Regions from separate parts of the Homo sapiens genome. Here all the other regions are linked to region 3. Evidence: promoter capture Hi-C in 16 types of primary human blood cells and fetal thymus (Javierre and others, 2016). All regions are on one chromosome and are shown on one strand. The core of a region is centred on a gene start or on the middle of the fragment in contact, and the rest is flanking DNA. Distances in the headings are between cores, read along the strand shown. Region 1 overlaps DENND3 (DENN domain containing 3). Region 2 overlaps DENND3 (DENN domain containing 3). Region 3 holds the start of PTK2 (protein tyrosine kinase 2). Region 4 overlaps PTK2 (protein tyrosine kinase 2). Region 5 overlaps PTK2 (protein tyrosine kinase 2). Region 6 overlaps SLC45A4 (solute carrier family 45 member 4). Region 7 overlaps DENND3 (DENN domain containing 3).

Evidence for each region. The method cuts DNA at HindIII sites, captures the fragments that hold promoters and counts their contacts. A CHiCAGO score of 5 or more calls a contact.
Region 1: a contact is called between a fragment that was not itself captured here and the fragment with the promoter of PTK2 in region 3, in 5 of 17 cell types (naive CD4 T cells, total B cells, naive B cells and 2 more). The highest score is 5.9, in naive CD4 T cells.
Region 2: a contact is called between a fragment that was not itself captured here and the fragment with the promoter of PTK2 in region 3, in 3 of 17 cell types (total B cells, naive B cells and endothelial precursors). The highest score is 12.1, in total B cells.
Region 4: a contact is called between a fragment that was not itself captured here and the fragment with the promoter of PTK2 in region 3, in 7 of 17 cell types (endothelial precursors, total B cells, naive CD4 T cells and 4 more). The highest score is 9.5, in endothelial precursors.
Region 5: a fragment that was not itself captured here is called in contact with the fragment with the promoter of PTK2 in region 3 in 7 of 17 cell types (endothelial precursors, total CD4 T cells, naive CD4 T cells and 4 more); the score reaches 8.7 in endothelial precursors.
Region 6: a fragment that was not itself captured here is called in contact with the fragment with the promoter of PTK2 in region 3 in 1 of 17 cell types (monocytes); the score reaches 5.8 in monocytes.
Region 7: a contact is called between a fragment that was not itself captured here and the fragment with the promoter of PTK2 in region 3, in 3 of 17 cell types (total B cells, monocytes and naive B cells). The highest score is 9.0, in total B cells.

What each region holds. Positions count from the first base shown.
Region 1 is chr8:141,134,439-141,137,138 of GRCh38, reverse strand. It overlaps DENND3 (DENN domain containing 3), which reads right to left. Exons shown (of 23, transcript NM_001352890.3): 2 at 348-630. Among named protein-coding and RNA genes, the nearest start is that of DENND3-AS1, 5.6 kb to the right of the region's middle. RefSeq lists an enhancer at 1,863-2,481. The HindIII fragment of the contact is 594 bases long and covers 996-1,589 here.
Region 2 is chr8:141,175,582-141,178,281 of GRCh38, reverse strand. DENND3 (DENN domain containing 3) reads right to left here. Exons shown (of 23, transcript NM_001352890.3): 15 at 1,521-1,691; 16 at 86-215. Among named protein-coding and RNA genes, the nearest start is that of DENND3-AS1, 47 kb to the right of the region's middle. The HindIII fragment of the contact is 1,922 bases long and covers 467-2,388 here.
Region 3 is chr8:140,999,969-141,002,668 of GRCh38, reverse strand. It overlaps PTK2 (protein tyrosine kinase 2), which reads left to right and starts at 1,387. Exons shown (of 36, transcript NM_001352702.2): 1 at 1,387-1,544. RefSeq lists silencers at 953-1,372, 1,393-1,722. The HindIII fragment of the contact is 6,005 bases long and covers 154-2,700 here.
Region 4 is chr8:140,840,179-140,842,878 of GRCh38, reverse strand. The region is part of intron 7 of PTK2 (protein tyrosine kinase 2); the gene reads left to right. Among named protein-coding and RNA genes, the nearest start is that of MIR151A, 110 kb to the right of the region's middle. The HindIII fragment of the contact is 613 bases long and covers 1,127-1,739 here.
Region 5 is chr8:140,788,739-140,791,438 of GRCh38, reverse strand. It overlaps PTK2 (protein tyrosine kinase 2), which reads left to right. Exons shown (of 36, transcript NM_001352702.2): 14 at 1,913-1,965. Among named protein-coding and RNA genes, the nearest start is that of MIR151A, 57 kb to the right of the region's middle. The HindIII fragment of the contact is 3,807 bases long and covers 1-2,700 here.
Region 6 is chr8:141,231,148-141,233,847 of GRCh38, reverse strand. All of the region lies in intron 2 of SLC45A4 (solute carrier family 45 member 4), which reads left to right. Among named protein-coding and RNA genes, the nearest start is that of SLC45A4-AS1, 22 kb to the left of the region's middle. RefSeq lists an enhancer at 2,623-2,700. The HindIII fragment of the contact is 5,972 bases long and covers 1-2,700 here.
Region 7 is chr8:141,192,835-141,195,534 of GRCh38, reverse strand. DENND3 (DENN domain containing 3) reads right to left here. Exons shown (of 23, transcript NM_001352890.3): 23 at 1-1,502. The coding sequence ends at 1,302. Among named protein-coding and RNA genes, the nearest start is that of SLC45A4-AS1, 60 kb to the left of the region's middle. RefSeq lists an enhancer at 2,409-2,700. The HindIII fragment of the contact is 4,384 bases long and covers 1-2,700 here.

The DNA of each region.
Region 1 (2,700 bases), core at 43-2,542, 130 kb before region 3:
GCGTGGTGGTTGGCACCTGTAATCCCAGCTACTTGAGAGGCTGACGCAGAAGAATCACTTGAACCCAGGAGGCAGAGGATGAAGTGAAAGGAGATTGTGCCACTGAACTCCAGCCTGAGTGACAGAGTGACGCTCCGTCTCAAAAAAGTAAATAAATAAATAAATAAATATAAAAAATTAAAAAAATCCCCAAGATTAAGAAAACTAAATCCCACAAGAGGAGGCAGTGAGGGGTCCCTGGCTCTGCCGCTCACGTCACTTCCCTCTGCCTGTGGGTTTCTGGGAATAGACCACTCTGGGTGGCCGGCAGCAGGAGGCGCCCAGTGGTGCCCACCTCCTAGACATACCTGGGAAGCACAGCTGCGGCAGGGTGAGGAGGTCCACGCCGCCCGGGACGGCGACATCCTCAGGCTCTGGCGCTCTGGGGGGCCCCGGGAGGCCCTTCCACTGCTCTGGTCTGGGCTTCTCTCTCTTCTTTCTCAAGGAGCGCATCCGGGTTTTACCGAGAGTGCCGCAGTTGGCACCGGCCATTTGACTGTCCTCTTTACTGATAAAAGGAGGCACGAAAATGGACAGGACCTCTGGATCAAGAAGAGCAGAAAGATGTTTGACTCCCTTTTTATAAGCAACCTAAAAAAGGGAAAAATAAGAGTTACTGCCACAGCCTCAGCTCTTGTTCGAGGGTATCCTTTCTGTCTGAGCTTCACTGCTTGTTTTTCTCCTCCCCTCGGTGCCCATAAACACTGGCGCCTCAGGCTCCTAACAGTAAAGGGCTCCTGGGAAGCTTCTTTTAGGAACCTGCCAGGCCCTATGTTCAGGGAAGCCACGTAGACTCGCAGAGCCTGGCTCTTCAGCTGTGGACATGGACAGCAGGACCTCACCTCCTTCCTATAAAGCACTGCCGTCCAGGCTGCGGACTGGGATCCACAGACCTGAGTTCAAGTCCTGGCTGTGCCTCCACCTCCTGACAGCAAGCTTCTTTGTCCCTCCAAGCTTCCCTTTAAGCGGCGAGTACAGGGAATAACAGAGACAATGTGGGTCCGGTACTCAGCCCAGCGGGGCTGCCAGGAGCCTATGGATATACTGTTCAGCCCTCCCTGGGTGGGGGCAGGCTCTGTATATTGTCAAACCCCACACATACACATTTACCAGGGCCACGCCCTCCACACCCCCACGTGGGCCAGTGCTGCCTCCTTTCTACCACACTGATCTGGGAGGACGCATGGAGTGAGAAACAGCACTGGTGGGTACAGATGAGACATGTGCCCTTCCTCGGCTGACCAAACAGTCCCTCAAATCAATAAAAGGGGGGCATTTGGCCTGAATTCTTCTCAACTTTAACTTGGCATAATTTTTATTTTTGCCTTTTTTCTTCCCATTCTTTCCTAAAATAATACAAAGCACATGGGCCATCCCTTCAATCTCTCTTCCATGTTACTACTATGCCCAATACAGCTCCTAGTACAGAGCTAGGACAAAACAAATACTGCTGCCCGGCTGATTTCAGATCTTTCCAAGGTGGACACCCTGCAGTCTGCGAGCAAGAAGGAAGTGGTTCTGGTACTAAACTAGCCCGAAACAGCAAAGCTTGAAGCAAGGGGCCCTGGGTACCCAAGGCATGGAGAGACAGGAGGTGGCCAAAGGCAGGTAGTCAAGGGTCTTTAAGGGACCCTAGAAAGGACAGCATTGCCGGGTGCAGTGGCTCACGCCTGTGATCCCAGCACTTTGGGAGGCCAAAGCGGGAGGACTGCTTGAGCCCAGGAGTTCAAGGCCAGCCTGGGCAACAAAATGAGACCTCGTCTCTACAAAAAATAAAAAAATTAGCCAGGCATAGTGGCACATGCCTGTGGTCCCAGCTACACAGGAGGCTAAGGCAGGAAGATCGCCTGAGCCCAGGAGGTTGAGGCTGCAGTGAGCTGTGATCACACCACTGCGCTCCGGCCTGGGTGAAAGAGCAAGACCTGGTCTCAAAAAAAAAAAAAAAAAGAAAGAAAGAAAGAAAGAGCTGGGCGCGGTGGCTCATGCCTGTAATCCCAGCACTTTGGGAAGCCGAGGCGGGCAGATCACGAGGTCAGATCGAGACCATCCTGGCTAACACAGTGAAACCCCGTCTCTACTAAAAATACAAAAAAATTAGCCGGGCTTGGTGGCGCATGCCTGCAGTCCCAGCTACTCGGCCGGGCGGGGGGCTGAGGCAGGAGAATGGCATGAACCCAGGAGGCGGAGCTTGCAGTGAGCCGAGATCTCACCACTGCAGTCCAGCCTGCGCGACAGAGCAAGACTCCGTAAGGAAGAAAGGAGATAGCACTGCCATCCAGAGAAATGGGACCTTGGCTGACAGAAAACGCACAGCCAACACTCAACATTCCAATAAGACACAGCAGTGACAAAAGGGGAGTCTTACGCTGGAAGAAATTTCAACAACGGCAGCAGTTTCCATCAGTAAGCACACTCTGATCTCTATATGACGATTTGCACGCTACATCACTCAAATTCGGTCAACAATTGCTTTACATTTGGAGAAAAAAATGTATCAGTAGGAACCAGGACAAAACATGGGAAATCCGACTGGGAGCGGTGGCTTACGCTTGTAATCTCAGCACTTTGGGAGGCAGATCACGAGGTCAGGAGATCGACACCACAGTGAAACCCTGTCTCTACTAAAAATACAAAAAATTAGCCGGGCATGGTGGCGGGCGC
Region 2 (2,700 bases), core at 178-2,677, 180 kb before region 3:
TTGATAAAACAGACATCGACCAGATAAAATCACTTAAGGCGTGTAATCAGGACAATGATCCACGCTAAGAACGGGCTTATCTTACTTTCGTTACTCATCTTATCAAAGTAGGATAACTTGGAGGCAGCGTAGATGGCGCCTGGTGACTGCAGTGTGCCCACGACGGCGTCCATCAGCAAGACGTTGGTCAGCGCCTGCTGGACGTAGTGAGGGTCCTACAACAGAAACACGTGCGTTTCAAAACAGCAAGAATCACTAAGATCAGTTCACCGGAGACCTTGTTGCAACACACAGGACAATCCTTCCAAAATGCCTTTTTCCAAAGTGACATGAAGAGTTTAGATCACGGATGAATTTGGATTTTATGTCATATATTTCTTCTCTTACTTAAGACAAATATTGATTGTTTATACCAGGGCTCAGCCAGTGTTTTCTAGAAGGGGCTAGGCAGGAGGCATTTCAAGCTTTGTGGCCAGTCTCAGCTGAGATCACCCACTGCCTGCCACTGCGGCATGGGAGCACCGAGGGACATTTCATAAACAAACAGGCAGGACTGTGTTCCAATAAAACTTTACTTACAAAGACAGTCCACTGGCCCACGGGCTTTGGTTTGACTATGCTGGTTTATGCTATGTAAACCAGTGGGTATAGCATCAGATGGCTAGTCTAAAAGCCACAGGGCACTGGAATCTTAGAAAGGACCCAGTCCCCCTCTGCCCTGTGACCGGGAACTTCCTGTAATAACAGCAACCCTCCCGCTGTGGCCCCATCTGTTCCTCCTAGCACTGCCACTGTAGTGGGTGCCATCGTCCCCGGCATTTCTCTGAGGATTAGTGGGGCTACACACCTCTTCATAACCTGGTGAACTGTTCCCTTTCTGTGAGTTCCGCGTTCATGGTCTTTGCCCATTTTCTAAGGCGTCTTCCTGTCTTGTGCCACCCTTGAGCAGCGTGGATGCCTCCTCTACACACCACCGGCCCATGGTTCCCTTCATTACTATGCAATTGTCATTTGATATCATCAAAGCTATCAATTTGGCCCAAAGTAAATTAAGGTACAACAATCCCTAGAAAAATCATCTCAACCCTGTGGAAGGAAAGCAGTACTGCCCCTGCCGAATTCCAAATCCTGTGACTGTGAAGAGTCGCTCAGAGCAGGGAAGCCCAAAACACCCAACTCCGGCCTGCGGGTGTGGACAGCACCAGCACCGTCCGCCCCCGGGAGGCCCCACTCTCTGGGATGTCGCCAGTCTGGAGCGGGCAGTGGGGCACCCACACCTGCCCAGACCGCCCTGCGTTTTCTCATCATGCTCTTCCGTAGCACCGTGAGGCCTCTCGCTGGGTCACACAGACCACATCTTCAATGCTTCTGTCAAGATGGTGTCCGACAAACTTACTCTGCTTAAGACACTCAGACCCGAGCCCGAGCACTCACAGCTGAGGACTGCCACAGGACCCACAGGTGGCGAGAGGCCCCTGAGGCAGCCACAGCAAAGGGCAGAGGGGACCCGCGTCTCCCACCTTGTGGTCATCGGCCAGCTTCTTCCCAGCCCACATCTCCTTCACCATCAGGTGCCAAAGGTCACACTCGGTTTTCAGGTTGGCTTCGAAGACTTCTTTCTTGGACGCCACTCTGATTTTTAAAGTGGGTATTCTCCGAAGTAGAAATGTAGTAGTGGTTCTCCTGACCTCCTGCAGAGGCAGAAAAGAAAAGTTAGGAATGTCACACTCAGAGAACACGTGGATTCACCAGAGACAGAGGCAGAGCGGGCTCTGGAATGAAGAGGCAGATGGGCTGCAGGCACGCATCCTGCTGGCATGTGGAAGGCAGGGCCCCGGGTGAGGGGCAGTGTTCCCATGGACGGCAGGTAGGATTCACCTGCGGTGCGGCACCTACACCCACCCACACAGCTGGGCTCGCCCAGTGTCCGAAGGCAGCGCATTCTTTCACATCCTTAAATACTTCTCTCTCCCTCTTTTTGTTTTTTTTTTTTTGTTTTGTTTTTGTTTTTTTTTACTTCCATCTCCCTTTCCTTATATTTATTTACATTTCTTTGGAATTCTAGAAGGAAGTCTGGAAAAGCAGGTGTGGAAAAAAGCATAAACTGAAGGCCAACAGCAAGAGGGGGATCTACTGGCCGAGCATTTACTATGGGCTGCGGCTGTGGCTTGACTGCCTTTCTGGCTTCTATGACCACTCAGCAGGTGATCACATAAAACATTTGTGTATCTGACATGCCTCTTACAGTCCCCTTAAATCTGGGAAAACAACTATAAGGCGTAAGAGGAATCAGGATGAAATTCAGATTTCCTCGACAGGGAAAATGACTACCTTTAGAATATAATGTTAAAACTGTTTGAAGATTTTTTAATTGTTATAAAATAAGCTTGTTATGTTTTATATGAACCAGGTCCGACTGTGACTAGAAAATGTGAGCTACTGTAGCTCACCGTGGCTGGCACATGGCAGTTTCTCAGTAAACATCTCATGGATGAACGAAGGCGTCCTACTGTCCCTAATGAGAATGTCAGCCCACATTCTTACTTCCTGCCTCCCAGATGCAAGTCAGCTGTGACAGAGAATCAGTTACCATTCTAAGCATGCTCCATATGCAAACTATTCAATCTCCACCACCCACTGAGAAGGTATCAGCCTTATTCCTACTTTACAGATGAGCAAACTGAGGGACAGGAAGGCATT
Region 3 (2,700 bases), core at 138-2,637:
AGGCCTGAGGCTGGCATGGAGAGGCAATTCCTTACAATTTCATATGTAGTAAAAAGTAACAAAACCCAGAAAAACACCAACCTTAATACATCTCATTAAAGAACAATACAACCCAAACATTTAAATATGGTAAAATCTTGATAAGCAAAAGCTTTTTATTTTACTTCATTTTTACTTTTATAAAAGCTCCTAATGCAATGACGTGTGTCACCTCTCTGGGCTTCAGGGTGTTCACCTTTCAAAAGGCCTCGGTGCCTGTCTGTCCTGCTTCCTGGCTTGTGGTTAGCATCAAAATGACACCATAAAAATGAAAGTTGCAGCCTTGAGGGTTCTTCTGGTTTCATTTCCGACCACAAGGTTGCCAGAGTGACTTTTTTTTTTTTTTAAATAACACAAATCAGTTATCACTTCCTGCTTAAAGCCCTCCAAAGGTTCCCTGTTGCCTAAAGAATAAACTCCAGGCACCTAAGCAAGCCCCACGCAGCCGTCTGCATTTTTCAATCCCTCCAACCTCGCCTTTTGCTATTTCCCCCACCCCACCTACGGCACGTTCCGGTCATAACCAACTAGCTCCTCGCTGAAACTGGCTCACACCGCGGAAGCCCGGGTCGGTGTCGGGGCGAGCCTTCCCTCCTTTTCCTGGAGCCCGTCTCAGGTCTGTAGCCCTCGGGAGGGATTGCAGGGCTCGTTCCCTGCTGGCGTTCATTTAGGTAACCTGTCTACCTCCAGTGGACTTCTAAGTCCCTTTCATGATTTTTCATCTTCCAAAATCAAATAATGGCCCAGCCCAACTTAGCTATAATGCCATGAAAAGAATCTCTGAGCCTCAGTTTCCTTGTCTGCAAAAAGGGCCCAGGAACCGCTCGTTAGGGTCGGTGTGGTGCCTGGAGAGTGCACTGCAAGGCCCGGGGCCCGCAGCGGGTGCCCGACAGCGGGCGTCCAACTCTGGGGGCGGGGCCGCAGGGCCGCTCAGGAGGGAGGTTCTCCAGAGGGGACCCCTTCGGGATTTGGGGGCAGGGAAGGAGATGGGGAGGACTTTCCCGAAGTCCGTCTAATCCCGCTGGCGGAGAGCGAGGCAGGTGGGACCCCAGGATGTCCGCTCGGCGGGGCGACCCCGGCCACCCCCGAGACCAGGGCTTTCCTCGTCCGGCCGCCACGCCCGCGCGCAGCCTCGGGCCACCCCGAAACCCCGGCGCGGTCACTACAGGACAAATTACGCGAGCAGAGCCTAGCGGCGCGCTGGGCATGCGCGGGGGCGGCGCGCATGCCCAGTCCCCCCGAGAGGCGGGAACTCCGGACTGAGACCGGGTCGGGCGTGCGCTGCCGAGAGAGGACGCGCGCCTCAGCCGGCTGCCGCGCACGCGCGCGGGCCCGCGCCGACGCAGCACGGCCTCGAGGGCGCGAGCCCGCGCCGCCGCCGCCGCCGCCGGTCCCGGACCACTGTGAGCCCGCGGCGTGAGGCGTGGGAGGAAGCGCGGCTGCTGTCGCCCAGCGCCGCCCCGTCGTCGTCTGCCTTCGCTTCACGGCGCCGAGCCGCGGTCCGAGTGAGTGCGGGGCGCCGGGCGCGGGGCGCGGGTCGGGGGCTGGGCGGGCTCCTTCTGTGCAGCGGTCGTGGGCTGGGCCGCGGCCCTGAGGGCGGAGGGGCAGAGCGGGGCCGCCCAACCAGTCCCGGGGCGGATGCGGCGGAGACCGGCCCCTCCCGCGCCCCCGGCCCGGGTTCTGGGAGGAGGGGAGGCCGGTGGCCGTGAGGAGGTTGGGGGCCCTCGCGGAGGCCGAGAGGCTTAAGGAGGTCAGGGGGCGCGCTGGGAGGCGGGGGTTCGGGGCGCTGGGTGGTCGGGAGGCTTGGGGAAGACTGGGAGGCTGAGGGACGTGGGGAGGCCGGGAGCTCGAGGAGGTCGGGGGTTTTGGGGGCGCGCGGGGAGGCCAAGGGGTTCGGGGAAGACAGAAAGGCTGGGGGACGTGGGGAGTCCGGGAGACGTGAGGAGGAAGGGGGGGGCGGCTTTCGAAAAGGCCGGGCGCGCGGAGAGGCCGAGGGGCCTGAGGAAGACGAGGAGGCCGGGGCTCTGGGGGCGCGCAGGGCGGACAGAGGCGCGGGGAGGACGGGCCGGCCTCCGCCGGAGCGGACCCAATGCCTGAAAAACAAAAGGGGAGAGGCAGGAGGAGGAAGAGGGAAATCGCAGGGACGTCGGCAGGGTTCGCCCGGACGCGAGAGGGAGGCTCGCGACGGCCCGACCTCCGTCCCCCGGGCGCGGCCTCGCGGGCAGCCAAGGGTGGGCTCCGAGCGGCCTGCCGGTGCCCGAGCCCCAAGCCCGCCGTGTCCCCGAACGCAAACCCTCAAGTTTGGTAGAGCCCCGTGGGCTTCTTGGCGGGAGCCCTGGAGCCCTCACTGAAGTCCTCACTGGAGTCATTGTGCTTCCCAAGTTTTCTCCTCTTCCCCGCCCCCAGCCCCCGACTCTGCCGCGGTGGCTTAGGCGCAACTGTTTGCCGAATTTCTCTCTGGGTTCCTTGTGTAGCGGCATCCTGTTCTTTCTTAGAAGAAGGGGTGTGTGTGTGTGTGTGTGTGTGTGTGTGTGTGTGTGTGAATTGGTTTCATTTAATTGCAGAATTTTGTAGCTAAATTCAGTGAGGGTAAAGTTTCTTTTTTTTTTTTTTTCCGAGTCATTTCAACAGTGTCTCATTCTTGCATAGTTAGCCTGCAGC
Region 4 (2,700 bases), core at 184-2,683, 160 kb after region 3:
TATGGCTGTTTCATCTTAGTTAATTTATATGTGTGATATTTAAAGTAAGTAAATATGATAGTTAAAAGAAAGAGGAATCTTTAGTTTATTGTAGTTCTAGGATGCTATTGTGCTTATTTTGCTGTCCCCTCTTTCTAAATTCCTGTGCTTTTGCTCCACTGTAGTGATTCGTTGCAGTTATACAACTTGTGTGAATTCAGCACCCTATCTCCATATAAGTAGATTAGTTGAGTGACCTCTTGAAGCAGAATATCTGGGTTCAAGTCCTTATCGCACCTTGACTATTCTATTTGCCAAATTTTATTAGTAAGCTCTTGGTGTCTGTTTCCAAACGTGTAAAATGGGGATAATGGTGATACCTACCTATATATGAGATTGTCGTAAGGAGTTAGATGAGATAATTTATGTCAAGAGCTTAATACCTCTTGTACCCAACACTGAATAAATGTGGACTATAATTATGATTATTATCCATGGGAGATATTGATTGTCAATCAGGATAAAAACCAAACTGTAGAGTTTCTTTAAAGAGCATTAAGAAAAAAAAATAGAAAACAATGTTATTGTTCATCTGTTGATTTAATTTTGAGCCCTTTTAAAATGATTTTTAATTTATTTATTTTCAAAGGTAATAATACATTCTAGTTAGAGAAAAAGTGAAACTACAGTGTCAAATAAGAAAATTTCTTCAACTCCTCTCACTGATAACCACCATCATAGTTTTAATAAATATCCTTATAGCTCTCTGTTTTAACACTTGTGTGCACATTCAATGCATAGTTTTAATATAAGTGGAATAATCCTATATGCATCTTGCTTTTTTTATTCAACTTTATGTTTAATAGATCTTTCCATGTGACTAAATAAAAATATACATTAGTATACTAGTCCACCCAATGAGTATATAATGCTACATACATTTAAACAGCCACATAATAGTGGACATTCAGTTCAGGTTAATAACAATGTAAGGCATGGTGCCATTTTTTGTTCATTTTTGCCTATATGATAGGCAACAGATGATAACTTGCTTTATATTAGTTTGATTACTGGTGATATTAAACCTCTTCACATATATGGCCATTTTTAAGTTTTTTTTGTAAATTAACTATATTTTAAATAAGCTTTTCTAATATATTTTTTCTTTATTAATTTTAAGCAGTCTTTGTCATGTTAACACATCTTGTAATGTTAGTTCTGTATTTTCTTTCCCAGCTCGTCATTTTCTTTCAACTATGTGTATATGGCTCTCATCATTACAGAAGTTTGTCTTTCTTTAATGTAGTAAAATCGTATTTTCATTTTGGTTTTTGAGTTTTAAGATCCGATTTTTAAAAAGGCATTCCAGAACTTAAGATTGTTAAATGTTTGTTTTGAAACTTTTGTGTATTCATTTCTGTTTTTACATTTTCAAATGTGTGGATTTTAAAAATATTTTCTTTTTAAATTAACTTTTGGCTTAATGACATTATGCTCAGATAGCGTGGTCTGTGTGATAAGAGCTTCTCAACTTTTATGGAGACTTCTTTTGTGGACCCTAGAATAAGATCATTTTCCCCTAGTGTTTTATCATGAAAAAGTTTCAAAAATACAAATAAGTTGAGAGACTTGTTCAGTGAGCATCTGTGTGTCTATTACCTGAATGCTACAGTTATTAACATTTTGTTGTATTTGCTTTGTGTGATCAGTTTTTATAAATGTTTTAGTGTGATTCAAAAAATGCACTTCCTAATCAAGCTTGTTAACATACCCATCTGTGATAATGACTTTGCCAATTTCTTCCTATAAGTCTATTAATTTTTCCTTGATATTTTGAGGCGCTTTTATTTAAACATACGAACAATATACCTTCTTGGTAAATTGAATTTTGCATCATTATGTAGTGATCTTCTCTATGCCTGATAATTTGTTGTTGTTGTTCTGAAATCTGTTTTGCTTTCTTTAGGTTAGCCTTGACCTGGTTTATACTTTTCATTTCTTCACTTTCAACTTCTCTGTGTCCTTATACTTTCAGGTGTGTCTTTTAAAAATGTCATAGTGCTGGATTTCTTAAATCCAGTTTGCTAAGTGTTTCTTTGAACTGACAGGTTTAGTACATCTGTATTTCTTAGGATGCGTGATATATTGGACTCGCTTTTATTATTTATTTCCGGTGTCCTAGAAATAAGCTGTGTGTGAGTGCATGTGCTGTGTATTTCTTAGTTGGTATTCTTATTCCACATTTTCTTCTGTAATTACGTTGAAATTTATAAACATCTCTACTCTTTCATTAGTTACCCTTACATTTAACCTTCTATATTAACCAACTCCAGATTTTAAACTTATCTAACCCTCTCTTAAACAATACAAGGACCTTTAAACACCTTAACTCTCCCCATCTTCTTCCAACTTACACATCATTTTTTCCTGTTATTTTAGTTATATCTTTTCAAAATTGAAACTCCAAATATTAGACATTATTATTATTTTATACAGTTATTATTTTTGGCTTTCCCTACATGTATATGATTTTATTTCTTAAACATCCTATATTGGGCCAGGTGCAGTGGCTCATAACCTATAATCCCAGCACACTGGGAGGCCAGGGTAGGAAGATGGCTTGACCAGCACGGATAGCATAGCGAGACCTCATCTCTACAAATAATTATAAAAATTAGCCAGGCGCGGTGGCACGCAGCTGTGGTCTCACCTAGTCGGGAG
Region 5 (2,700 bases), core at 99-2,598, 210 kb after region 3:
AGAGGTTCATTTGGGGTCATATCAGGGCAGGAACTGATGTTTATTTAGAGTACCTTTAGTTGTGGGAAGTTAAGGGATAATTTTGGATTAAAATCAAAGCTGGGCAATGTGGCATGTTCCTGTGGTTCTGAGGCTGAGGCAGGAGGATCACTGAAGCCCGGGGGTTTGAGGCTGTGGTGTACTATGATCATGCCTGTGAATAGCAACCACACTCGAGTCTGGGTGACTTCGTGAGACTCCACCCCATTTCTTAAAACACAGACACACACACACATAGAGGAATCATGAACATAGGTATGAAAGTGAGTGAGGAAGGTAGTACATTGCAAGTGTTAACAGATAAAGGAAACTAAATAAATGAAGCAAACTTTACAAGAGTGGAATTTCCACAAACCTTATAGCAGCAGGACACCATTATTGCTGTTGATCAGATAAGAGCTGAAATCCAAGCTATCGTGAGAAAGTTGCTTAGCAACAGCATACATAATTGTGGCGCAGACAAGGGAAAACCCCAGTGTTTTGGCAGCACAACAGGGAAGGAAATGATGTAATTTATTGATTTAAAATGTGTGTCCTCTGACTGCCCAATAAATATAGTTCAAAGATAAGTTGTGATAAATCATGTAGCGCAATGGAAGAGAAAGTAATGAGTTGTTAGAAAACAACTTTGATTAAATTTTTATACTAAAGATATAAAATTTCAAATATTTGGAGAATTCTGTAAAAGGAACACAAGTCTATGGCTGTTTGCTGTGATTATTATAGAGATTATACAGTTTCACATTAAATAGTTGTAGTGCTTCGAAACGATGTACAAGTTGAGCATTTCTAATCTGGAACTTCAAAGTTCAAAATGCTCCAAAATTGGAAACTTTTTGAGGACCAACATGTTGCAGCAAGTGGAAACTTCCACACCTGACCTCATGTGACCTCATGTGTAACAGGTTGCAGTCAAATATTTGTTTCATGAACAAAGTTATTTAAAATATTGTATGAAATTACTTTTGGGTTACATGTATAAGGTGTATATGAAACATAAACAGATTTCACGTTTAGACTTGGGTCCTATCCCCTAGATTCCTCATTTTGTATATGCAGACATTCCAAAATCCAAAAAATCTGACATTGGAAACACTCTTGTTCCAAGCATTGTGGATAAGAGATATTCAACCTATACTGTTTTAAATGTCAATATTTCATCTGGAAAAGGTTTTCTCTTATAAAAAGATCAGGTAACTTTGACATCTAAAGACTGTGTGGCTCCTTTTTTCCCTGTGTTTTGTGCTTTCCAAAAGTTTTTTACCAATTTTTTAAACGGCACCAAGACTTTTGGCCAAAATTTTATTTTTTGTGGGTAAATATGTAAAACTAGTGTTAAACCATGTCATGAAGCAAGTAGCAAGATACATTGAGATTACTTTTTTAAGTATGTAGGTAATAGTACATATTAATGTATTGCTTGATAATTTTTTATGTGCCATAAATTTGAGAAAGACCAGTCATACTGTAGTATTTCATATTATGTTTTAGAGAGCAAAATCCACTTCCAGGTGTATGTTTTTTTTCTCATAACTTTAGGGGCAATCCTTTAGTGTGTAGCATTTAAATTTATATTTTTATATTTTTATTTAACCCATTCATACCAGATTAAATTGTATTGCATTGTTTTAAATTATTGTCAAGAGTATCTTTCTCAGAACAGTTCAACATTCCTTCAGTTGTGTATTTTAATTTGTGATCTTTAAAGCATTAAAGCAGCCTGGCTATTTTAATAGTAGAATCCAATTTTTAAAGAAATCACGTATCTAAAATTTTGTCTTCCTCATCCAAGGCAGTTCCCCACTTGATGAGGCCGAGTTGCGGGGTCCTGGGGAAATTGCAGGGCTTACAGCTTTGCTCTTGTCTGTCACAGGTTGGCCAACAGCGAAAAGCAAGGCATGCGGACACACGCCGTCTCTGTGTCAGGTAAGGGGCTCTAGGTAGCAGACCTCGAAAAGCACTCTCATGGGGTAAGACGATCATAGATGTCTATTTTTAGTATAATTGCTTCGTTCTAGAATAGCTTATGAAAATAAGCATTCTGGCTATCCAAATTTGCATAATTTTACCATCATTAAATAGTTTTAAGTATGGCTCATAGTTTTTTTTTTTTTTTTTTAAGATGGGACATAGATAAAATACCAGATCACTCAGCAAGTTGTATAGAATTCCAAATTATTTTTGGGTTTTAATATCATGTTAATCTTATCCAGAATGAAGTTGCCATTATAATTTATCTTGCAATTCAGTAGAATATACTTTGCATATTTATTTTAAGAAGTTCAGGAAATGTGAGACATTTTAAAACAATTTTTGTCTTTCACAATATGGTGTTTGAGTATTGCTTTTTAAAAAATATAGTTAAGATTCTGGCATGAGCATTGTCTTAACTATTTGCTGGTGCAATTAAGTGTGTTGTACTTTCCTTGGTATGTTTCAAAATAGATATGCCTTTTTTCCCATTTAAAAATGTGGGAAATAAAGGAAAGGGGGAGGATGAGAAAGCATCTTCTGTGGGCCCATTTGATATCTTAAAATACATATACCATCTGTATATGCACATATATACATACGTAACCATATACACACATATGTAATTTGTTCTTATATATGTGCATACATATATGTTACATTTCTGAAATAATAGTTTCCTTTTAACTT
Region 6 (2,700 bases), core at 71-2,570, 230 kb before region 3:
CCTAGCCAAGGCCCTGCACCAGCAAAACGGGAAAAGCACAGCAAAACGGGTGCCACGCTCCATAGCCGTTTCCCAGGGGCCTGCCGTCTTGGGCAGAAGTGTCATAAAGGGAGATATTGTTAGAGGGTTTTTTATTTCATTTTATTATTTATTTGTTTATTGTGAGACAGTCTCACTCTGTTGCCCAGATTGCAGTGCAGTGGCGCACTCTTGGCTCACTGCAACCTCTGCCTCCCGGGTTCAAGCAATGCTTGTGCCTCAGCCTCCCAAGTAGCTGGGATTACAGGTGTCTGCCACCATGCCCGGCTAATTGTTTTCTATTTTTGCTGCAGGTGGTGGGGTTTTACCATGTTGGCCAGGCTGATCTCGAACTTCTGGCCTCAAGTGATCTGCCTCAGCCTTCTAAAGTGCTGGGATTACAGGTGTGAGCCACCGCACCTGGCTGTGTTTTTTTTAATTTTTAAATACCCAAGATCTTTATTGATAAACTGCAATAGTAACCATCAGTAAGAATTCATTTTTTCCTTAATTTCCAAAAACTTGCTAGTTTTAACTTAATAGCATTCTCAAGCCACATCTAAATCAGTGTGTGGCAGTAGGCAGGGTACAATGAACGAATGTCTGCAGCCCAGCTGTGTGCTGGAACCAGCTCATCCTGGCTCCTGAGAGCCAGCTTAAATTTTCAAGAACTTTGCGGGCTGGCCGTTAACACATCCATTGTGAAAAAAGTTACTTGCTTACAGTTGATTTAGGTTAGCAAAGTTAACGCGCACTTAGCACTTCCTAATGCCCGACTCCCTTTCGCCTTGGTGTGTCTGCCTGCTGTACCTGCGGGGCAGAGGTGCCGCTCAGCGCTGGCTGCTGCTCCTCTCCACTCCTGTTCAGCGACGTCACCTCAGCAGCTTGAGATTGGGCGGGGTGGTAGCATCTACACCATGGAAAGTGGCAACCACTGAAAGGAGACGCCAGTCCAGCCCAAGCTGGTCGTGAGCGTTCACCCGGGAGCCATTGAGTGCGTGTGTTCCCGTTGCAGCTCGCGAGCGCTCACCTGGGAGCCACTGAGTGTGTGTGTTCCCGTTGCAGCTTGTGAGTGCTCACCTGGGAGCCACTGAATGTCTGTGTTGAGCCACTGAATGTCTGTGTTCCCGTTGCAGCTGGTGAGCGCTCACCTGGGAGCCACTGAATGTCTGTGTTCCCGTTGCAGCTTGTGAGTGCTCACCTGGGAGCCACTGAGTGTGTGTTCCCATTGCAGCTCATGAGCGCTCACCTGGGAGCCGTTGAGTGTGTGTGTTCACGTTGCAGCTCCTGAGTGCTCACCTGGGAGCCACTGAGTGTGCGTTCATGTTGCAGCAGCAGCATTCCCTGTCTTCACCTGAGGCCTTGGCGTGATTGTTCCATGCTTGGGCATTTGGGGTGTTTCTGGCCATCTGTTATAATCAAAGCTACAAACAGCAGTATATAAGGGTGGCAGCTGGATTTCCCATCTGTCCCTAATTCAAACCATAAAGGCTTATAGCTGAAGGGGACATTTGCTGTCATCTTGTCCAAGCCTTGGACGTGAACCAGCCCATGGCCAAAGCATGGCGCACAGAGCAGCGGGGCTGGCGTGTGATGGATTGTTGAGGTTCCCCGGCCCCATGTGTGGGAGCCTGAGGGGGGTTCCCCCGCCCCCTCCAGTCCCTAGCATCTGTATGAGCTTAGGCAGATGATATAATCCATTGGAGGCTCAGCTTCACCCCTGAAGACCCCTTCTGTAGGCCAGCGGCAGAGGAGAGATGCAGAGCCTGAGTCGGGCACTTGGCGTGTGGGGCCTGGCCCCACTGGAATGTACTGTTCCTGCCATTTTCACTGGGCCTGGGCAGTGCTACGTGACCTGGAGCCTTGGTTACCCAGGCACTACCTTCCAGTGCCCATGGAGGGAGGAGAACCTTGGTAAAGAACTGAAGTGGGGTCTCCTGATCTCGGGCCATTTGCCCTCACCAGGCGCTGTTGAGAGGCGTCGCTGTGTACTGGGCCTTCGCGCACACAGAGCAGTCTCATGTGGCAGTAACTTCCTAGTGGGATCCATGGCTCGGTGCCGTGTGGCAAGAGTGTTTCCTACTGTGCCTGTCAATGTAGTGGGCTGGGCAGGGCCCACAGTGGCTCTGTGTCTGATGGGGGAGGGTCCCCCATGGTCCCTGGGTCTCTGCCTGCACCTTGGCTCGAGGGTTCTTTGTCTGGAAGATGCCAGGTGGCCAGGTGACCCGACCACTCGGTGTGGGTCCCGCAGTGCCAGCCGTCCGCCCACCTGCTGTTGCTGGGTGCTCCCCCACGTGGCATCCGACTCCAGGTAGCTGCGCGGCCCTCTTGGAGCAGCCCCTCCTAATGTGCCCTCTTCATCCAGTGGTGACCTTGTGATCCAAGCCTTTGACCTCGGGGACTTAGCTGGTCATCTGGTCCAGGGAGTACTAGGTTGGACCAAACCGGCCTCCTCATGGTCCTCCCCCCACCAACTTGCAGCGTGGCCTTCACGGGGACCTGCGTGTCCCAGCCCAGGCACCTTTGAGGGGTCCCTGCTGCCTCTGGCGCGAGGGGCCACACTCTCAGCCCAGAGCCAAGGCCTTCCCGGCCTGGCTGTCCCTGCCCTGTCTCCGGCGCTCCTTCCCACACTGTGCCCTTCATCCCACCCTCCGCACCCATCCTGGGACCTGCCAGGTCCTT
Region 7 (2,700 bases), core at 97-2,596, 190 kb before region 3:
AAGCCTTGGGGGAAAACCTGGTCCGTGGTGTGGACTCTCCAAAATGCAGACCCAACCGGAGGCCGGGCCCGCCTTTCCATCTGGAGGCACTGCAGGGCTTCTGAAAGCGGCCCATCCCAGGAGCCTGGCAAACACCCCCAGAGACCCTCAGGATGCGCCAGCCCCGGGGCTTTGTCCTGAGAAGCTGGAGCTCCGTGGCCCAGCTTGTGGATGGGTGCCCAGGGGGCAGGCCCCATGCCCTCAGCACGTGCTGACACGCTCCCTCCGGCTCCAACAACCACACCAGAACCTTCCGTAGAACATTTAAGTAATGAAGTCTCAACATTACAGTAAAAAGGTGCAAAGGGTCTCTTTTACAAATATTTATGTACAGCCAAGATCTTGTTGAGTTCAGTATAGCATGCTGCGCGTACACATACGCAGTGTGCACACGGATTCAGGGAACTGAGCGGCACACTGAAGACGAGATCACACGTGTGCACACGGATTCGGGGAACTGAGCGGCACGCTGGAAGACGAGATCACACATGATGCTATTTTACTTTTGATCCCATGTGCTTTCCTGGGCATGATATTTTAGATGGAACTTTTTCTGGTCTGTGATCTTTGGTAGAAAAAAGGTCTCTAGGATTATTATAAAAATGTTGCATCTATTAAAAAGAAAAGGGAAAAAAGACAGCTTGCCTCAGCTGGCCCAACCCCTGTCGCAAACACCTGATCGCAGGGTGGTCCCCTCCACCTGGGTAGGCCCTGTCCACCTTCTGTGATGGGAGAGAGCCCACAGTGGTTACCCGAACCACCCTTCTCAGGCCTCGCTGGAGGCCCCGGGGCTCCAGGCTCCCTGTCATGTGCTCAGCCCAGTGTTCCTCGGTGATTCGTAAGGACTGGGTGAGTGAATGAATGAAGTAAGGAAAGGTAAAACCAGAGACGTGAGGGCCACGGGTCACCTGTGACTCGGCCAAGCTGCTGGCTCCAGTGCCAGCCCCTGGTTGTGGATTCCAGAACTTTCTAGGCAACAAAGTAACCTCCCAGCAGAGGTTATCACCAACAAGACGCAGCTGCCTGCCTGAGACACACCCCAACAGGAAACACCCTTGGTGCAGTTTAACCAGGGGGCCCGAAGGCCTGAGAGAAGGTGCGTGGCCATGGGTCTCGCGGCTGGCCACACGGTAAGTGGGCTCCATGCTGAGCCTGGGCTGCTCTGCCCTGCCACCCCTCCAGGCTTCTGCTCCTGGCAGGCTCTAGGGGGCAGCCAGTCCCCACACATAGGGCACAGTTCCACTTGGCAGACTCAGCCACGTTTATTCGCCTTTCCAAATGGCGACTTTCCCCTCCTCCCTGCCCGACCCACTCAGCACGTATCTGTCCTCAGCCGAGCACAGCGTCCTCACGGTGTCCATGTGCGCCACCAGCTCCTTCTCCACGGTCTTCCTCTCGGCGTCAATCACGTAGATTTTCCCCTTGGGTGTTCCCTGCCCCAGCCCTCGGCTGCCCACCCAGACCTGCCAGGGAGAAACGGGAGGGGTCAGCAGGGAAAGAAGCCCCTCCCAAGAGCACCAGGGCTTTGCCCGGCTACCCAGAATTGACGCGTGTGCCTCCAAATCTATGTCCTTCCTGGACAGGGCCTCTGCCGCCTGAGGGTCAGGGCCGCCTGGCAGGTGCACAGGACCCTTCTCGGGCTTAGAACCTAATGGCCGAGGGGCCTCTGGGGAAGAAGACTGCACTGCGTGCTGGAAAAGTGCTGGGGTGCATCTTAAGTGTTCTCACCAAACAACAGCCACCTGTGTGAGGTGACAGATATGGTAATTAGCTTGTGATTATTTCACAATGTATACTGAAATATCACCTTGTATACCTTAGATATATATAATTTTTATTCATCAATTATACCCCAATTAAGTTATGGGGGAAAACACTAAACGAATTCCGCCCCACCCCCGCCGTGTCTCCGACTTGCTCGGGGCCTGGAAGTCCAGCTTTCCTTCCAATTTCTCCCTTTTCGGATGAGAATGTCTAACCTCTGCCTGGCCCAGCCTTGTGTTTTGGGAAGAGACAGCCTGTTCTAGCTGCGCAGGTTCACGGTGCAAGAGGGGTTGGTTCTGCCCCAGGTGGGACCCGCCCACGGCTCACCCACATCGGAGGGCTTTGGCTTCACTTGGAGATTTGGGGCTCAGAACTGACACTGGAGGGACTGGGACTTCGGGGGATGTAGTGATGGAGGGGGTGTATTTTGCATGTGGAACAGATGTGGATTTAGGGGGCCAGAGGGCAGACTGTAATGGGTTGAACAGTGTCCCCCCAAATCCATATCCTCTGAACCTCAGAATGTGAGCTTCTTTGGAAGTAGAGTCTGCAGATAGTTCAGATGTGGTCACACTGGTTAATCCAGTACGACCAGCATCCCCATAAGAGACACACACAGGGAGAGAGAGTGCCATGTGGTGCAGGCACAGGTTAGAGTGCCACGTCCACAGCCAGGGCACGCCAAGGACGGCGGCCACATGAGCGGGTGGGGGAGAGAAGGGCCTGGAGTGCACGCTCCCCCCGAGCCCCCGAGGGAAGCGGCTCTGCCGACACCTTGGTTTTGGACCTCCAGCGTCGAGAACTGTGAGAAAATTAAGTTCTGTCATTTGAAGCCATCCAGTTTGGGGGAATGCGCTGTGGAGTGCTTGGACCACACCATGAAACCAGCACATGGTG